2 separate regions of the Homo sapiens genome follow, and region 1 is linked to region 2. The links are contacts of gene promoters, found by promoter capture Hi-C in blood cells and fetal thymus (Javierre and others, 2016). All regions are on one chromosome and are shown on one strand. The core of a region is centred on a gene start or on the middle of the fragment in contact, and the rest is flanking DNA. Distances in the headings are between cores, read along the strand shown. Region 1 overlaps LOC124904518 (a long non-coding RNA gene). Region 2 holds the start of TAF1A (TATA-box binding protein associated factor, RNA polymerase I subunit A).

Region 1 (4,652 bases), core at 913-3,412, 490 kb before region 2:
TTTGTCTCATAGAATCCCATGGCTTCAACTATCCCCTACATATATTCATATTCCCCAAAAGCAAACCTGGAGAAGACCTGAATTAAATCTCTAGTTGTAGCTTCCACTGACACTGAAGTCTCAATATGCCCCAACCCAACCTTTTTATCTTCTCACTCAAACATATTTTACTTTGCATTAATGACACTAGACCCTAATTACTCCTGTGAGAACTACTAAATGTACTTGTGATTCTCCCCTCTCTCTCTCCCCTCAACTTTCATTCATTTGCTGAATTCTGAGGATTCTCCCTCTGCAAGAGTTCTCACCTCTGTCTCTGCATTACCACTGCCTACTGCCACAGTTGAGGCATTGGGCGTTTCTCGTGTGAACCGTCACAGTGAAATGCTAACTGACCACATCACGATGAGCCTTTCTCCCTCAACTCAGCTGCCATACTCACCTGCTAGACTTGTCTTTCTAAGCCCAGTATGAGGCTGTATGTCACTCTTTGTATTTTCCACTGCTGACAACAATATCTGCACAAGATTACCAGCAGACTGCCTACATCTGAATCATCCAGGAGGCTGGCTTACAATGCAGATTTCTAAGCTCCACTTCAAGCCAGCTGAATCAAATCAGTAGGTCCCAGAAATCTACATGTTCAGCCAAGTCCCTTTATAAGCCTTCAGCCCACTACAGCAGGAGAGCCACTGGCATAGAGCTTCCTCTGTAGGGCATTTAAAGCCTTTCACTATCTGGCCCCTGCTTACCTTTTAATCTGATTTTCGCCAGTCCCTTCACCCATGCCCTCATTCTCCATACTTACCCTGTGCCTTTGGGTGTTTCTCTCCCTGAAATGCCCTCTGCCTTTTGCTGCCAGATCTTACTAAAGCTTAGCCCTAAATTCACATACTCTGTGGCATCGTCTGTGATGCCTCTGGTTATATCCAATTCCTACCTCTTCAGGACCTCTGTTACCCTCAATAAAACAGGATTTGTTCAGCTGGTGAGTAACTCCACGAGAACACAGGTTTTGATCAATAAGAGTTTTATTACTTGGTGCAAGTAAGGAGGATACTGGGAGTGTTCTCCAAAGCAGTGTCTCCCGGAGAGAAGGGGACAGGAGGGTTTTATGCGGCAATGGAGAAGGGTGCATCATGGCAGGTAGAGGAGGGGTCCCAGTTGCACAGACATGATGAGTCATCATGCCAGCATATGGGTTGCATGTCATGGTAATGCAGGTATAGCTCCTCCCAGGGTGGAGACTTTGGCATAGTAATGAGGAAAGTTCACTCGAGTTCATCTAGAAGTTGCCAGGATCAGTCAGGACCTGGTTTAAACCAACAAGGTGACTGCATTCCACACAGGCTGCAGGGCAGGAGGCTGTAAAACAGACTGACCAGACTGACTGCTCAACTTGATTCGATTCCTATCATCCCTGGAGACTCTCCCTGTCTGTTTATACTCTTATATACTTTATAACAGTGTATCTCTGTGCATTATAGTAACTGTTTTAGTACCCCTTTCCTTTTTGGCCAAATACCTCTTAAGGGCAAGAACCAAGTTTTACTTATCCTTTTACCCCAGTGTCTGACACATAGTCAGTGCTCAATAAAATGATGTTTGAATGAATGACTGCATAAATACTGTCTTCCACCACTGCAATTCAAACATCAGACTCCATGGATAGCAGCATTTAGAAAAACACTTATATCTAACCATAATGATTCTGACAGGTTCCTGATAACTCTGGAAGTGTTATGCATTCCATCAGACTGAGAGGACCCAAATTTCATTTCTGAAATTCAGAGGACATCACAAGGAGACAGTTCCATTTAAATTTATCTTTCCAATTAAGGGCATAGACACAGATTCAGTTAGTTTGTACCGAAAGAGCCATTCATAGAATAGCCAACAGCTAAGGCCTAATTCTCAGACTAATGAGTAACTAAAGATATTTTTGAAAAAGCTGAATGTCGACAATATGACAGGGACACCAGAAAAACAAGGCTGTGGATGGCACTTGCCATCTGTCATCTGTCCAACAGTTGATGGCATTATTTGAATAACCCCTGAGTTTGTGGATTAGTCTTGTGGACCAGAGATAGGAGTGGAGGGGTTAGGAAGAAGGAAGTCACAAGGTCCCCTCTTTTCAAGAGTTTACAGTTCAGTTAGAACCACCTAAATGCTGCATGTGGCAAAAACCCAGGAATAAAAACAAAGAAGTATGGTAGAGACTGCACATTGACCTAATGTAGAAACAAAGCCCACAGCTGCTAGGGAAAGAAAGAGATTCGAGATTTATTTGTAATGAGAATTTTGGCACTGGAAGAGCCTACAGAGACCATGTAATACAGCAGTCTCACTTCACAAATGAGAACTAAATGCCGAGTGAAGTGACTTTTCCAAAGCCATTCGAATTGTTTATTTAACCAGGAAACCTTTCAGATAGAAATAAGATATGCCTGGAAAAAGAGAAGGTAAGTTTTTCAGAGAGCTATGTTGGAGGAGGGAAAAACTATGTGAGGAGAAAAAGAGAAAGAGGTTTCTGCAGAAGGAGAAGAGGCAAATGAGCAAGTTTGGGAGATGAAAGCAAGAATTTCTAGTGCAGTGCAAAGAAGAGTGATGAGGAGTGAGACTGGGGTGTCACGTTGGAGGTGGGAACCAACCTTTATGAATGGAAAGTCTTAGCTAGAAGAAGGAGGAGGGTTGCTATGAACCCAACTGAGTTCCAGCCCTATATAATGAATTCCTGTGCTGTTAGAATCCAACCTCACTCAATCACAAATTTTTGAAGCTGGAAAGACCTTGAAGGAAAACTAAGGAACTCATCTTAGAGATGAATAAGCCCAGGTTCAGAAGGAGGCAGGGCAAGTGTGTGGTCTTTGGAAACATGCTGATTCTAGTTTTAACACTCATCAGCCATATGTCTTTGAGCCACTTATTGAAGCTCTTTGAGCCTCTGTTGCCTTTCCTGTAAGAAGGAGATATATTCAATTCATAGTGTTGTTATAAGGGTTAGACTATCATGCATCATTAGCACCTGGCCTAGTGTGAGCCCATAAATGGAATTCAGTGAATGCTTCTTCTGCCTCCCTTTGTGCTAAGAGATGAGTTGCCTTGCCCAGGTCATCAGCTTATGCATAGCAAAGACAAGGCAGAAACTTTAATGTTTAAACCTGAAAATCCAAGCTACAGCCCTAAAACAGGCTGCCCCTCTTGCAAACTCTACCTAGGCTCCCACCAAAGTACTTAGGATCCTTTTGAAAAGGGGCAGTTCCGGAATTGCCATAAGAGACCAGGAATTCACAATCAGAACTTCATTTGCTTTCCTTCCTGAAGTTTGTCTTTAGTGAGCTCACAGCCTTGACGAATGAAGAAACAAACCCATCTCAAACAAACAAAAAACAAAGAGGGCAGATCAAAGACAAGTCCTCTATGAAAGTATGTCAGCTGGGGATAGAGGATAAAAGCTTTTTTGTTGCTGAATGAAAAAGCTCTTTTGGCTTCATGATTTCCTAGGGATTATAATAATAATGGCCTGGATTATCAATACAATTCACATCTGAATGTGCTTCACATTTCTCAAAACCTGAAGATTGGAAACTAAATTGTTGAAAGCCAATCAGTCCTGGCCAGGTAGAGGTGCAAGGTAGACACAGAGACTCTTGAGCTGTAGGAGGTTTTATCAATATGACAGATACCCTTTGAGGGATGAGCTATTGGCATGTGGGCATTGAAGTCCTGGACAGAATGTAAATATTAAGACTTTAAAATAATAAATACAATATTCCCCAAACGAATCTTTTTATCTTCTACCTCAAACACAACTAGTGCTCTTATCAATGACCTGGGACAGTGCTTTTTTTTTTTTTTTTTTTTTTTTTTGCTTGTCTTTAGTAATGTACTGCAACTCTGCTCAAGTTTGTTAAGCATTTCTCAGGTTCCAAAGAATTTTCTGACACTAGCATTACAAAAGTGACTAAGACGTGGTCCCTATTTTCCAAAATTTGTTTAAATCCCAGCTCAAATCATGTCACTCCTCTGATCTAAACCCTGCATTGTTGCTCCATCTCACTCAGACGAAAGCCAACATCCTTGCAGTGGCCACCGGCTCCCACCTGATCTCCTTGGCCCTTCCTCACTGACCTCATCACATACTACTCTCTCTGTTGCTGATACTGAATATGCCAGGATCCTCCTGCCTTTGTTAATGAATGCATTTTTCTTTCAGGAAAAGAGATGAGCTCTATGAGGAAATGCAAAAAGCAATTATAATTTCAATTGTGGAAAAAGAAAACTCAGAAGTCAACTTAAGAACTTGCCAGTCAGACTGCTTTTTGAGGGAGCTGTCCGATGAGCTGGTGTTGCTATTTGAGGTGAACCACCCAGCTAGCTGGGTGGCTTGACTACCTAGAGGGAAAACTTGACCATTCATACAGCAGAGAAAGACGTGACTAAAGAACACTGTCCCCACTATACACTTCCACCCTGCATGACATCAGTGAATCTTTGACTTCCTTTAGGTTAGCAAAGCATGGAAACGAATTTCAGGCCAAATGACGATACATTCATGATCGCTGGACAATTTTATTATCTGGATCCTGGGGCAGTGCATGCAGTGTTTGTCCTGGAGCAACCTCCTTAAGGGGCCACCTCTGCTTGAGCAA
Region 2 (4,668 bases), core at 1,819-4,318:
ACAATGTCAATATTAATTGCAAGTATTTTCTCATTGCAGACCAAAAGTATTTTCGGTTTAACAGGCTATCCATGACATATAAAATATTCCTAAGCATGTAAATTTTGGTCTTTGGTCTTAAACCTATCTGCTTGCAGACTGACTCAGACTTTCTATAGAACACTGGTAACAGAAACATACCCAAGTATGACTTAACTATAGGAAATTTAAATTACTAGTTTGTTCCCTACCAGGGATGCGGTAGCACTACCTCTGAAGTATCATTCATTCAAATCTGCCTTAAGCCATGTGCATTAATCTAGCAAAAATAAAATGAGGAGAGGAAAGGCACTATTATTTTTCAACACTCATTATGCATGAGATACTATGCTAGGTACTTTACATATATTGTCTCATTTTTAAAAATGCATCTCAGTCGTTAAAAGTGTAAGCTTTGAGATCAGACAAACCTGGATTTGACTCCTGATACCACTTAAGAGTTTAATGTCTTTGAGATTCAGTTTCATCCTACCTAAACTGCCTAGCATAAAAATTTATTGAGAATTTACTGAGATCATTAAATGGGATGATACTTAGATCAAAAGAAAAAAATGGAAGCGAAATTTTAGGAGCCAAGGAATCTCTGTCAAGGGGAGAAAAGGCTGGGCAAAAAAACACATATTTAAGGGCAGTAAGTAAAATGCTGGTTCAAATGTAATCCCAGGACTATACCACTCAATATGCCAGCATACAGATAATAGCTTCTTTTATTTATACTTATATTAAATATATTCTTATAGGGAATTTATCCCATAGAAAAACATACTTGCATTTATATTAGATAAAAATGGGGGAAATTTTATCCCATAGAAAATCATGCTTGCATTTACATTAGATAAAAATGGGGGAAAATGCTCTTTTATCTAGGCCGGGTGCAGTGGCTCATGCCTGTAATCCCACCACTTTGGGAGGCTGAGGTGGGCAGGTCACTTGAGGTCAAGAGTTCAAGAACAGCCTGCCCAACATGGTGAAACCCTGTCTCTATTAAAAATACAAAAACTAGCCAGGCGTGGTGGCTGGTACCTGTAATCTCAGTTACTCGGGAGGCTGAGTAGAATCACTTGAACCTGGGAGACAGAGGTTGCAGTGAGCCAAGATCTAGCCACTGCACTCCAGCGTGGGCAACAGAGCAAGACTCTGTCTCAAAAAAAAAAAAAATCTATTACACGATCAATTCTATTCGAAATAATTTCAATGCAATTCAACAGCAACTTCTTGAACACTTCCTAGGCATGTTTTCCTCAATGGCAGAGACCATATCTTCACCTATGACTCCCCAATATTTAATCAATGCCAGAGATAAAAGTGCTCAGTAAGTATTACTGGAAAAAATGTGTATCTAGCATAATACAGACTATCTATTATTAATCCAAGGGCAAAGAATTCTAAAAGAAAAAAGATTTCTTTTGGCTTTTAGCCAAAAAACCCTCCACATATTCCTCTTGAAAATTAAACCAGTCTGGTTATTCATTTTGTATCCCTATTGAATCTTACCACCTCCTTAAAGTTAAAATGGCTCAATGTTATTATTTTACTTACCCACAGTTTCTACGTATGTTTGAAGCCAAGGAAAATGCATTCCTGCACCACTGAGCACAGATGTTTCCACTTCTTCATCATCTGTCACAGGCCCTTTTAATTCTTCACTGAAATCACTCATACCTATTACAAGATGAGATATCAGTTACTTTCTGTACATCTTAATCCACAGTCTTCTGAGTTGTACAGAAAAACGGCTATCTTTTTATCTAATAAATATAATTTGATTAGCAAAATGCATTATACCTGTCAGCTCTTTTAAAGTAAAAAATGAATTTAACTATGTCAGCAACAGCCAAAATGAATGATCCATTAAAGACCGAACCACTAATGTTTCAAGTCCATGTAAAGATAAATAAGATACTGCCCCTCTAATTTAAAAAATCTCAAGTCTAGACGAAGAAACAGCAAAACGTATAATAACAAAACAATATGAAAAGTACAGTAAGAATAGAAGTAGCAGCTAATATTTATTAGGCCCTTACTATGCACTAGAAGTATAAATTATCTAATTTAATCCCCACAGCAATCCTGAGGTGGGTACTATTACTTTCTTCCATGTGAAGGTTGAAAAAACTGAGGGGCTTAGTGAAATGATGGAACCTGCCTAACATCACAAAAAATGGTGAGGACGATAGTCTAGGAAATAGAACACCAAACTACTTGGCATGACTAGAATTCGAGGTGCGTGTGGAGGAGGGGTGCGGAAGGTGAGAAACGAACCTAGAAAAATCATCATAAGCCAAGGTGAGTTTAGACTTACTCCTAAAGATGCTCAGGGCCCCTTCCTCATTACCCATATGAAATCGAGTATTAGTGCCCCTGATACTACCTCCAAATTTCCCCTATTTCCCCTCTTCAATCCTACAGCACTACTCTAGTTCAAGACCCCTTCAAACAGTGCCTAGATTACCGCATCAGCTTTCTAAACAATTACCCTGGCTCAGATTTTGCATCTCTGCATTATACCCAGAGTAAACCTTCTAAATTCAAAGCATGTGGCTAGGAGTATGAATTATAAGTAACAACTGAATTTGAATCCGACCCATCACGTGTTTTCAGGAGTAGTTACACAAATCCTCCCTTTCCAAATCCTCAAAAACCCAAATTGGTGACCCGCAGTTGCCACGGCAACCAAAGCTTCTCTATCCCCTTCTTTCGTTTTCAGACCCCAAGGGTTTCAGGTATTAGGAGGAAATATCAGGAGAACATGGATGAATCCTGACACACCCCTTCCCGTTCCATTTAAACGCAGGAACCACGGGCGATATCTGCGGCACTTACCCGCCTAAATTTAGAGCTCCTCAGTAAAGCTAAACTCAGTCTCCGACTCCGGCCCACGTGAAGAAATTCCCACCGGAAGACGAGTTAGGAGAGCTTTATATGAGCAGGCGCTAAACCTGGTTTAGGTATTTAGGCAGCGCGCGGCCCGGCTCGTAACTCCTCCTGCTGCAGCAGGCGTATCGTTGGCCTCGCCTCGACCCCGGAAGTGACTTCTGGAAGTGACCCAGGAAGTGACAGTGAGCTGCCTCTCTGCGATTGGTTTTGCCCGAGTTTTATTTTTGTCTGTCTCAGCTAGAAAGTGGGAGACTTTCATTTAAAATGGAAATTGGGGCGAGGGGTTGGCGGCTGGGCGAAGGGAGCATTCAAAAGCGGAGAATGTCACTTTACCCGAGAAATTCACTACGATGGGCCATTGGTTTCTGCTCGGCTCGCAGGCGCACTGCACGAGTGGAGGTGTGGCTAGTGGCTGTGATGAGATAAATCCATGCATAGCCTTTTCATTGCGAGCTTGAAAGTTCTTTTCTATTACAGTTTTAGCTTTAGGTTTAATTGGTTCGACTGCCTTCTCCACAATTTGGGCGAGAATTTCCTTTGCCTTCTCAGCAAAAGTTGTTCTGCGGACCCGTCTGGGTCAACTTTCATGAGGGACATTGAGACAAACAAATGAAATATGGGTTAAAGGTAAGATGGTTAAACCGTGTGAAATGAGAGACAGTTGAGGGGTTCTAGGGAAGATGATCCCGGAAAAGGACTGCAGGCCCATGGAAACGCAGTGTGCTTCTCCAATATTTGGAGGGCTGATCAGTGAAAGAAGGATCAGACCCTTTTTCTTAGCAGCAGAGAACAGAACTAGGACTAATAAGTGAAAGGTAAAGGGAGGCTGCTTTCAAGTCACAGCAAGAAAGAATTTTGTCCACAAATGAGGATGCACAAATATAGCATAGGCTCCCCCAGGAATCACTGAGTTTCCTCTGTGTAGGTGAACAGTTTGAGTAGAATCGGAGTATCGGAGAGGAAATTAAAGGGTCTGGTAAGAGTTTGAGGCCGGGCGCGGTGGCTCATGCCTGTAATCCCAGCCCTTTGGGAGGCCGAGGCAGGCGGAAAGTTTGAGCTCAGGAGTTCGAAACCAGCCTAGTCAACATGATGAAACCCCGTCCCTACAAAATAAAAATAAAAAAAAATAAGCTGGGGTGATGATGCATGCCTCTAGTCCCAGCTACTCGGGAGGATGAGGTGGGAGGATCACCTGAGCCCAGGGAGGTCGAGGCTGCAGTGAGCTGTGATCACCCTACTGCACTCCAGCCTGGGCGACAGAATGAGACCCTGTCAAAAAAAATTTTGTACATGGATTCCTTAAAATGCTACAAATAGTTGATTCTATGTTGTCTTCTGCATAAAACAATATGCAGTAGTTAAGGACTTGCAAGAAAAGTTCCTTCTGCTGCTCTCTCTGTCATTAGTTCTTGAGTCCTCACTCAAGCTTGTGCTCTAACTCTACAGGCAGGGCTAACATAAATTATGCGTAGTCCAGGAGACCACACACAAAATAACATACATAATCATTACTTTCTTGTCTAGAGGCTTAGTCTGGCTACTTTTCTCCCATTGGCTTGAGGTGTAAATTCACCAAAACCAGCCCAGAAATGATTTTACATGGAAAAAAGTTTATGTTCTCCCGAAAATGAGGAAGAGCTTTCAGATTTTCCTCGAAGTTCTCAAACAGCTCTAAGGAGCAGTAGGAAACGTGCCCTACCTATGCTTTTTCTTTCCCATGCTGCAATTCTGACAGAAAATGTGTTGGAGAGA

Evidence for each region. Contacts are between HindIII fragments. The CHiCAGO score rates a contact against its expected background, and 5 or more counts as called.
Region 1: a fragment that was not itself captured here is called in contact with the fragment with the promoter of TAF1A in region 2 in 1 of 17 cell types (non-activated CD4 T cells); the score reaches 5.2 in non-activated CD4 T cells.

Annotation. Positions count from the first base shown.
Region 1 is chr1:222,096,555-222,101,206 of GRCh38, forward strand. The region is part of intron 1 of LOC124904518 (a long non-coding RNA gene); the gene reads right to left. Among named protein-coding and RNA genes, the nearest start is that of LINC01705, 39 kb to the left of the region's middle. RefSeq lists a silencer at 2,220-2,420. The HindIII fragment of the contact is 2,581 bases long and covers 873-3,453 here.
Region 2 is chr1:222,586,865-222,591,532 of GRCh38, forward strand. TAF1A (TATA-box binding protein associated factor, RNA polymerase I subunit A) reads right to left here and starts at 3,069. Exons shown (of 11, transcript NM_005681.4): 1 at 2,863-3,069; 2 at 1,579-1,701. The coding sequence starts at 1,699. It overlaps TAF1A-AS1 (TAF1A antisense RNA 1), which reads left to right and starts at 3,056. Exons shown (of 3, transcript NR_110613.1): 1 at 3,056-3,098; 2 at 3,394-3,543. RefSeq lists enhancers at 3,036-3,569, 3,570-4,102. The HindIII fragment of the contact is 1,624 bases long and covers 2,717-4,340 here.